2 separate regions of the Homo sapiens genome follow, and region 1 is linked to region 2. Evidence: promoter capture Hi-C in human tissues and cell types (Jung and others, 2019). All regions are on one chromosome and are shown on one strand. Each heading gives the region's core, a stretch centred on a gene start or on the middle of the fragment in contact. The rest is flanking DNA. Distances are from core to core; before and after follow the strand shown. Region 1 has its middle 13 kb from the start of FAM174B. Region 2 holds the start of SLCO3A1 (solute carrier organic anion transporter family member 3A1).

Region 1 (5,008 bases), core at 336-2,835, 820 kb before region 2:
ATGACAATAGTAATATTTTTAGATTATTAGCAAATTGAAAATGCAAAGAAAAAAAATCCTCATACAGAACTGGCGGGTCCCTGAGAACATGTCTGTGGACTCCAGTTTGAGAAACACTGGCTAGAAAATGGAACCATCTGTCCCCTTAAGGAAGACACAGATGAAGTGACCTCTTTTTCATTTCTTCAACTTCCTGGGGGAATATCAAGCTGTGAAGGCTCTGAAGGGATAGGCAAGCTGTGAAAAGCTGTTAGGAACTTGGGGACAGGCCAGGAATGGTTAGGGAGCTGAGAATTCTCCAGTTCCTGCCCTGAAGACAAAGTGAAGGGAACAGAGGGTATTAAACACTTGCGGTTGACAATAGCTAGAGTAGGGATAACTTTGGAAAGACCCAGTACAGCAATTAAGAGGTAAAGAGCCACAACCCAGTGCCCTAAGGCAGAAGTTCTCAACTGGCTGCCTATTAGACTCCTCAGGGGAGCCCTTTAAACGTGCTGATGCATGGATCCATCAAAGATTTGAATTAATTGGCCTGGAGTTGAGCATCAGTGTTTGTAAGGTCCTCCAGGGGATTCTAATGTGCAACCAAGGTGGCTGATCCCTGTCCTAAGGGAAGCCTTCTCTGTGGTATAATTACATTTAAGGCCACCTGTATTAATTTGTTTAATGGGGAGAAGGGAACAAACCCTTATTGAATGCACTGTGCTAACTCTTTAAAAAAAGTGAATATAAATAGCAGCTAACATTTATTGAAAGCTTGTTATATGCCTGGCATTGTGTTAAGCACTTCATATGCTTTTTTTTTTTTTTTTTGAGATGGAGTCTCCCTCTGTTGTCCAGGCTGGAGTGCGGTGGCGCGATCTCGGCTCACTGCAAGCTCCGCCTCCCGGGTTCACGCCATTCTCCTGCCTCAGCCTCTCGAGTAGCTGGGACTACAGGCGCCCGCCACCATGCCCGGCTAATTTTTTGTATTTTTAGTAGAGACGGGGTTTCACCGTGTTAGCCAGGATGGTCTCGATCTCCTGACCTCGTGATCTGCCCGCCTCGGCCTCCCAAAGTGCTGGGATTACAGGCGTGAGCCACCGCGCCCAGCCCCTACATGCATTTAATCTTTACAACATTCTTACGAAATTGGTATTATGTCCATTTTACAAATGAGGAAACAGAGGCCGAGACCAAGAAATTTGCCTTCAATCATTCAGTAACAAACAAATATACAAATGAAAATAATAACTTGCCTAAGGTCATACAGCGAGGGGATGGGATCCGAACCACGGCCTTTAGTTCCTCCACTGCCTCCACACTACCTCAATAATGCGTTCAGCACCTATTTATTGAGTATGGGCTATATAAGTGCCTGACACCAGGATAGGTGTTGGGGACACGAAGATGATCAAAGTAAGCTTTCTGCTGCCTCCAATCTTATCAGAAAGACAGCTAACTCCAAAACAATGTGATCTGTGCTATTAGAGTTGCCCTTGTTTGCCCCGGACTCTCCTAGTTTTAGCACTGAAAGTCTCACATTCTGGGCAACTTCTTCATTCCTGCCTGGACTGGGACAGCTGGTCCACCTTAACTGTCCTAGAGGAATGTGTGTGGGCAGGGGTGAATTTGTATGGGGTGGTGGGGGATTGTGCAGAAGAGATTAGCAAAATCTTCACAAAGGAGCTTATGTCTTGTTTGTAGAATGATTAGGAGGAGTTCTTTAAGCAAAAAATGGAGAGGAGAGGGTTAAGGAAGAGCATTCCTGGTGGAAGAACCAGGGAGCAGTTTAGGCAAAGGCTCGGATGGAAGGAGTTTAGTAAAGTTAAGAGTTTGGGGTGCTGGGAGGTAAGGGTTAGATGAAGCTAGGAGTTTAGTGAATTTAGAGTTTGGGGTGCTGGGAGGTAAGGGTAGATGAAGCTAGGAGTTTAGTGAATTTAGAGTTTGGGGTGCTGGGAGGTAAGGGTAGATGAAGCTAGGAGTTTAGTGAATTTAGAGTTTGGGGTGCTGGGAGGTGGGGGTGGGGAAGCTGGGCCCATACTAAGGAATTAGGACTCTACTGGCAGAGTTTAAACCCCATAAGGGTTTTCAGCAAGGGAGTATTATGCTTGATTTTGCATTTGGACAGATCACTCTGATTACGATGTTAGGGTGGGAATTCTCCTGAAGAGAGGAGCCTGGAGTCTTGGAGAACGGTTGGAAGGATGTTATAATACAGGTGACACATGAGGACAGGAAAGAACAACAATAAGAAACATAATATGTAATGTTTATTGATGACTTAATACGTACCAGTTATTATGCTAAGTTCTCTACATGTGCTATCTCATTTAATCCTAATGATAAGTGAGCTGCTATCTTTATGCCCATATTACAGGTGAGGAAATTGAGACTTAAGGTTTAATTTAGTGCAAGTTACACTGAGAGTAAATGGCAAAGCCAAGATTCCAGCTCTTGCCTTCTGACTTTAAATACGTGCACTCAACTCCTGTTGCTTGCTATAAACTACGGCAGTAGGTACTTATCCATTCAGTCCAGCAACATTTATTGAGCACTTACTGTGTGCCAGATACATTTCTGGTTGATGAAGAAATAGCCAATGAACAAAACAGACACAACTCCTGATTTGATGGACATTACGTGTGTGTGTGTGTGTGTGTGTGTTTTGAGAGACGTATAAACAAACAAGTTACACTAACTTACTCGTGGTTGGATTTGGACTGTTTCTGGAGAGAAGAGGAAGGACTTAGTAATGGGGGGATTGTAGGGGGACCCCTAGGTTCCTGCCTCCGCCAAGTGCAGTGTGGTGGCCAGCAGAGCGTAGGAGCTCTGGAGGTAGGGCAGGTTTTGGGGAACGATGAAGAATCTTGTGTGGGACATGCTGGGTACCTGAGAACCCAGGGAGAGGGGCCAGAGTGAGAAAAGAACTCAGCAGGAAGCCCTGGGGACTGAGTTAAAAGGGAGAGGAGCCAGCTCCCGAGAGAGGGGACAGAGAGGTCAGAGGGAAGATAGAAAACTGGAGACCTCCAAGGCAGGAAGCCCTGGCATCATCAAATGCCACTTAGAGGTTCAGGGAGGGCAAAAGGGAGACACACAAAGTTGTAGGCTCTCCCCTCCCGCTCCCCCTCCCTCCCTCCCATTCCCCCTCCCGTTCCCCCTCCCTCCCTCCCTCCCTCCCTCCCTTCCTTCCTTCCTTCCTTCCTTCCCCTCTCCTCTTCCCCTCTCTCTCTCTTTCTCTCTCCCTCTCTCCCTCTTGGTTTCTCTTTTCTTTTCTTTCTCAGTGAGAAACCAGAATGGGAAATATCTACTGGAGGGTGAAGATACAGGAGGAAGCAGAGGTAATGCGTGAAGCAGAGCCTCAGAGGAGGTGGAGGAGGGTTGAACTCAGGGCCAACGTGTGGGGGCTGGTCTCAAACAGGAGGGTGTATCCCTGAGGCTGGAGAGGAGTGAGAAAAAAATGGTCAGGAACGCAGAGCAGCGCCTCTCGGGAAGTGGCTGCCAACGTTACTTGTGAGGTGGAAATGTCCAAAGTGGGTCTAGGATGCATCAACACAGGGGTGAAGGTTTGGGCTCCACACTGTGGGGAACAGGAGAAACAGCCATCCACCCGGGGCCATCCCCAAACTGACCTTTTCTGTGTCCCTAACCCTCAGAGGCCCGAGCTCTGCCTGGGAATTAAAACACAAATTCCTGCAAACGTGAGGTCTAACTCCACTGTCACGGAGAGGCTGACGATGCCAGCTGTGGGAATTGCAGTGGGGACAGGTATGGAGAGGATGTTTCTGGACATGGGAGTGACTGCCACTTGGAGCTGCAGGCAGAAGCAACAGCTGGTGTGTTTTCCTGAGCAGGTTGGGGGATGGCTCAAAATCAATATTTACTTTACAAACAGCCATCCGGAGGGTGAACCGCCCTGCCTCTCACCCTCAGCTTTTCTGGGGAAAGATGTCTGTGGCCTGCTTAGCTCTGCCCTGCTGGTCTTCGCCTCTCGATCCAAAGCAACTTTGATGTGTATGGGAAAAGTACTGCACTGTGAAAGGAACTGTGGACAGATGGTCCACCTGAGCTCAAAGGTGGGGTCCCTCCACGTATGCACCTCAGGACTTTCCATCCTGTGGGAATCTCCTAAAAAGTTGCTCCATGGGTGGCACTCTCTGAGCAGCACGATTGGTGGGGAGGGCTCTGTCAGCAATATTATGTCGTCACTGACGTCTGCAGGCTCTCCTAGGGGACACTTCAGAAACTTTCATAGAAATATTTCTCTTTGGCAACAGCTCGCTGTTTCCATGGTTTGACGATACTAGCCAGCTGTAAAGTAGGCCAGCACGGGAGAGGGCGGCCCTGGGGACACGGGCTGCATGGCACGCTCATTTCCAACCCTGGGGCAAGTCAGATAACCTCATTAGGTCTCCATTTCCTAATCTTCAAAATGGAACAACAGTGTGAGCCTCAGTGGCCTGGTGTTGTGAGAATGAGGATTAAAGAACTGCAAATTTTTGAGTTTTTTTGGTGAATAATTGTGAAGTCTTTTGGAGGACATATTTCAGAAACAAATGAAATAATAAAGCAGACCTTAAATGTATTGATATAAATTTTGCATAGGTCCAGTAACCTTTTCTTTGCTACGCTTAGTGATCTACTGATTTAAAAAGAGTCCTCTCATATGATACTGACAGAACATTTTTAACCTATTTTTTTTTAACCAGCAATAAGTTTACATAGTTCAACATTCCAAATGCATGAAGGGATACAGTTACTATTCCCTTTCCTGCCCCTGTTCCAGCCATCCAGAGTTCCCCTGCCTAGGTAGGGTGACCAACTGGTCCTGCTTTGTCTAGGACTTTCTGTTTTAGCTCTGAAATGTCCTCATCCCAGGAGACTCCTGAAACCCCAGCAGACTGGGATGGTTGGTCACCCTCTGCCATAGGCAACCAACATTATGAGTCTGTCATGTGTCCTTCTGAAGATATTTTGACAACAGCAATGTTAGTATTAAAAAAAATCCTTTTAGGTAAAGAAATAAAAT
Region 2 (5,604 bases), core at 2,278-4,777:
GGCAAAAGTTGCAGGCCCCCAGCCTAGCCTAACAATTGATGGCCTTATATACAATACAGTTTTCCTTTGAGTTTCCTCCCTGGGCAGGTTCTTGGTGGAAAACAAACACATGCATACATACACACACACACAGACACACACACACATTTTCTCTCTCTCTCTCTCACACACACACACACACACACACACACACACACACACACACGAGTCCTCCTTCTCAAAGTTGCTTCTTAAATCACAGGCAACCTTCTGCTTCAGTTCTGCAGTTGGGAAGCCTACACTAGTGTCATTCAGGACACTGAGAAATTTGTCTTTTCAGAAAAAAATAAGGAAATGAAACTGCAATATTTTAAGGCACCTGGGGAGATGAAATAAGAAGGTGGACTCTGGGAATCTAATAGGAAATAACATCGTTGGCATAGAATTTGTAACCACCCTCCTCTCTGTGAAAGGGAGCATTACTGGCACTGTCCCAAGGCAAGTCCTTCCTCAAGTATCTGGAAATGCCTCATTAGAGAGGCAGGCTGATTGCCAAGGTAAGGATCACGTATAACGCACACTTAGCACGTGGACCCTGCCCTGTGGTCCCCTACAGACACAAGGTCTCAGGTTTCCTAAGAAAGCCATGATGAATTAAAAGGAAGAAATGTGCCTTTCCTGCAAACAGCCTGCAATATTTCATTCTCCAATTATCCACAGAGAAGTCTCGCATGGCTGAAGGAGCAAACTTTTTTTCCCCATCTCCCAAATAACAGATGAAGAGAAAACTCTGAAGTGGCCCAGAAGAGCAAAGCCCATAGCAAGCTGCGTCAGTCAACCCTGACAAGCCAACTATTTATTTTCATGAGGCTCCGATGGCAAGGCAAAGACGAGGGCAGCCGGGCAAAGCAGAGCCCTTAGAGCCTTATGCCTCCACTCCTAGTAATCAAAATGAATTCAATTTCCTAGGCCTGTCCTCTCCTGGGCCTCCAGCTGCTTTCTGCAAGTCACCTGTTGACTCCTGTTACCCTACCCCACCCAACCAGGCTTTCCATCAGCGAAGGCTAGAAGTGCCAGGATGCCGCCACCAGGTGGACCGAATTCCTCCTCTGCTTGCCATTCCCCTGTTCTGGGATTAAAGTCAACCTCCTATCTCCTGGGGCCAGCCCTGCCTCCAGAAGTCCACCACTCCAGGAGTACTCGGCTTCTTAACTTTCTAAAGGAGCTAGGCCATTCATCTAGTTGCAGCCCAGCTTCATTTATTTGTCAAATCCTTAGATCACTGCAACCGAAAAATAGTAAGCCCACGCTTTTATCACTCCTGGGGTGAAAAGTTCTGCGGGTGTTTGCCACACATGAATAATGCACTCTACCGAGCAAAATTGGTTTGAGGCAAACAAACCGTTAAAGTGGAGGCAGCTGTTGATATACTAATTACCTCCTTCTAAACATAGACCCGGTTAGGTATTATGTACTTTGCATATGTCACAGTACAGACCCACATATATTTTATTAATGTGAATTTGCATCTCTGTAATACATGTACTTATTTAAATATTTTAACAGTTAAATTTCCCCTAAGGAAGTGCCGATAAACTGACTCCCAAAACACAATTATCCCCTATCCCTCAAATTCCAAGGGCTAATAGGTACTGTCTGCAACTGCATATTATAACTATAGACACAATAAGTGTATTTTATAGAACAGAAAACAAGGTATGCTTTTGACTACAGGGTTCACTTGCAGTCTACAAGTTACGAATGCACAAGACAGAGACCGGGATGTAAACGCTTTTCGTCTCAGAATGAGCAACAGAAATGTATTTGATTTTCAAAAGCCCTGAAATTCTGTCACCCCAGGAACAGAGCTGAGTTTGAAGACCCCCTCTCTCACAACCACCTAACTTCCTCAACACCGGAGACCAAGCACTGCTTGTATTTCCCTTTAACAGTGAGCCCTGAGCCTTAAGAGATAGTTTATGAATGGTATACAGCCCCCAGCGTCTGGCCCTCATGAACTTTACCCCAAGGCCAGGAATGAGGGATTAATCATAGCATCAGGATACGCGTGGTTCTATCTCTGGATGTGGTTATTCAATGGCCAAAATCTTGTCCAATTCTATCTCCATCAAACTTGCTCAGGAATACTCAAAGTCTATGACATTTGATTCCAGTTGCGGGTCAATAGCCAAGTAATGATTTAACACTATAAACTCTCAAAAAAAATTTCCCGTTTAGACAGGACTGTACTTAGGTGTGGAAGCACGCTCTCTGGAACTCAAGTTGCGACCACCTGAGCAGAGGAGGCGAAAGCGACAAAGTAGGTACCTGACAGTGCTGAGTCATTACAAGCTGTTTCCTCTGAAATGTTACGCACCCATGGGCCCTCTGAGCATTAACATCCCCTTTCTGGAGGCAAATAAAATACATATTCATTGTGGAAAATGGTGCAACCTTCTGTAGGCGACAGACCACGATGGGGAATTTAGCACTAAGAGTGGATAGCAGGAACTACACAAACTCGCAGCTGCTCTCTAGGTACCGTAACTTTATCCCAGACGCTCAAAGAGGGCTATAGGGATACCGGGTGGCAATATTCCCCCTGCAGCCCCGGCTCAGGCCAGGGCCACACTAGGGCGCATTTCACTCTAAGCTGTTATATCCCCCTGTAATTGGCGGATGTAGAAAGCGCCCGGAGAAAATGATGCATAATAGATTTGTTCTCGAGGAGGATGCAATGGAGAGTAGAGGACGCAGGATGCTAACTGGTTTTTCTTCCCATGTGCAGGTCACCTGAAAACCCCGACGCTTTTTCGTTCCTCTCCAAGGAGAACCCTGAACTCACCGTCTCGCTCCGCTCTTATGGGGGGAGAGGAATAGTTTCACGCCCACCTGCCCGCCGCCTCTCCTCCCCCGGCACCCCCTGCCCCAGCCGGACGCGCGCGAGCTGCTACCGGCATCAACGGTCCCGCCCGCTACCCGCTCGCTGGCAGCCCCGGCCGGCAGCTCCCCCGGCGGCCGCCTCTGCACCACTCGCCAACCTCCACGCCGGGCCGAGGTCATGCCCGCCTGCCCCCAGCGCCGGGCGGCCCCCTCGTCGGGCCAGGCGGCCGCTCGAGAGCCGGGCTGGGGAAGGGGCCCGCGGCGGAGTTGGCTCGGGGACTCACCAGGTAGGCGCCCACCGTGCCCTGCGCCAGCATCAGGGCGCACTCGGACACCAGGAAGATCTTGATGTTGGAAAAGCAGGACACCTTCTTTTTCTTTTTCTTGTTCCTCTGCGCCTCGTCCCCCTGCAGCTCGCCGCTCCGGCCGCCGCCCGACGAACCGCCCGGCTTCTTCCCCTGCATCCTTCCCCCGCCGCCGCCGCCGCCGCCGCCGCTGCCGCTTTCCCGCTCGCCCCGGGTGTCGGGGCCGCTGCCGGGCGGGGGTGCGCGCCTCGAGGCTGCGTGCTGTCCCCGCCCCGGGTTCGCGGCGGCCGCCCCCGTCCTGCCGGGGCTGGAGAGGTGGAAGGCACAGCTCCTCGCCGCCGCCGCCGCCGCCGCGATCGCCCCTTCCTCCTCCTCCTCCCCCGCCTCCGCCCTCCCCTGGCCTCCTCCTCCGGCTCCGGCTGTGCCAATCACAGGGGCTCGTCGCGCCGCCCGCCGCCGCCGCTGCCTCGCCTCCCGCGGCCGCCCGCCGCTGCCATCGCCCGGTTCCCCTTGCCCGCCGGCCGCGCCTGCTCTCACCCCCTCAGCCCCAGCCCCAAGGCCTGGGCCTGGGCCGCCGCTGCGCGCCCTCGCCGAGCCGCTCCTCGCTGCCGGTGCGCCCCCGGGGAGGCACGGGAGGCGGGCTTGGGATGCGGAGGGCGGCCCGGCGGCCGAGGCTGGGAGGGTCCGGCTGCCGGGAGAACTGGGGAGACCCGGAGTCCTTGCGGAGTAAGGGGGGTGCCCCTGAGGGCGGGAGGCGGCGCCCGGCCCCTAGGTGGCGCTGCGGGGCACGGGGCCCCGCGGCGGAGACTGGCGGCTCTGCGCCGGGCGCGGAGATGGGGTGCGGAGGCGCCCCCGCGGGGCTGGGACCCGGCGCTCGGGAACCCGGGTGCCCAGGCCTCAGAGGGCAGGCTGTTCCCAGGAAGGGAGAATACTGAGTACCCAGGAAGGGCTTGGCGCGCGCTCTTCTCCGCCCGGGGATTTCTGGGGACAGATGTTGTGCTCTGGGTCTTGGGGAGGTGCCAGAGGTCAGAGCTGCTTGAGGCTTCTGCCGCCTGCCGGTTTCTGCCCCAGCTGTCCCCGGCCACAGGGGGTGTTGAAAAGGCCCCAGACCGAAAGGACAGAAAGGGGAAGTTAGAGGAATACGTCGGGAGCCCCACGGACCGTTAGTGCCCCAGCCTCGGTGTCCAGGCGCTGCAAGATCGCCGCGGCCCCAGCAGAGGGCCTTCTCCGGCCCTTCATCCGCCCAGGGCCCCGCTGCTGGAGCGCTCAGCAAGCGGCCAGCCGCAGGCCTGCTGGGTCCCCACCCGTCCCCTGGCTCTGTGGCCCTGGCCACCATCCTCGGCCTTGACCTGAATGCCTGGCCCATGGCAGCCGCTCCTAATTACTCCCCACTCTCACCGTTACCAAGGAGTGTGGGCCACAGGGCACTACCAATAGGATCTGCTAGTTCTCAACTGCAGCGTTTGGAAGCTGAGAGAAAAGCTCAGAGGGCTGGACAGGTACCAGGAAACAGCACCTTCCACCTGGGCCATTGGGGGACTCAAGGAATCATTTAAAACGGTTTCCTTAATAATTGTGTCAAAGAAAATGACCCACTCTCCCAAGCGCCTGTGTCCAAATGCAGGCTCAACTTCAAAACTGAATAGCAATGAACCCGACCATATTTTTCCTTTCTCCCGAAGAACTTGAATGAGAATGGAGGGTGTAATGGTGGGGATGTTGTTTTGCCATGGCATTTAAATATAAACTGCTTCATCCTTCTGTGGCTCCAGACGTGATCTCACCCAGGCTTGGTGTCGCTTTGAGATGCCCTCACCTTGTCTAGGCCACCTCCTATCTGAATTGGCTCCCCCCACACTTGAAGTCTCTTCCCGTCTTCCCCACTTCCTGAATCAGTGGTCACACCATTCCCGGCCAGTCCTATAATGAGAATCCTTACTGCCCCCTTCTTTCTTCCCCACACCCTCCTATCACTCGGAGCCAACTTCTCTGCAGGATCTTTATGTCCCCCTCTTTCCCTCCCCATCACTTTGCTTCATGGGCTACCTCCCCACTTCCTCCTGAGAAGACCCTTGACAAGCTAGCTCTGTTCCCTGCCTCTGTGACGGTAAGCTGCAAAGCTGAGCTGAGACTTGTCTACGAATGGTGACCCCATTGCTAATGAAATGTGCGGAGTGCTTTATAGTCTTCAACTCTTATTTACATTCTTTGTAATAACAAGAGCTAATGTTTACTGTGTGCTTATTATGGCCAGACACCATTCTCAGTGCTTCACCCGCATTTACAACGTAATCCTCACAGCAATCCTCTAAACCAGATACTATTATTAGCCTTGTTTTACAGATGAGACAACTGAGGCCTAGAAAGGTTAACCTGACCAGTGTCACTTGTCTAGTAAGTGGCAGGGCAAGTCTTTGAAAACCAGGTTGTCTGCCAT

What was found. The method cuts DNA at HindIII sites, captures the fragments that hold promoters and counts their contacts. A contact is called where the count stands out against the background at its distance.
Region 1: a contact is called between a fragment that was not itself captured here and the fragment with the promoter of SLCO3A1 in region 2, in 2 of the 25 tissues and cell types used here (bladder and dorsolateral prefrontal cortex).

The regions. Positions count from the first base shown.
Region 1 is chr15:92,666,210-92,671,217 of GRCh38, reverse strand. No RefSeq gene overlaps it. Among named protein-coding and RNA genes, the nearest start is that of FAM174B, 13 kb to the right of the region's middle. The HindIII fragment of the contact is 4,660 bases long and covers 1-3,915 here.
Region 2 is chr15:91,851,631-91,857,234 of GRCh38, reverse strand. SLCO3A1 (solute carrier organic anion transporter family member 3A1) reads right to left here and starts at 3,527. Exons shown (of 10, transcript NM_013272.4): 1 at 3,147-3,527. The coding sequence starts at 3,326. RefSeq lists silencers at 3,923-4,062, 3,931-4,105. The HindIII fragment of the contact is 13,420 bases long and covers 1-5,604 here.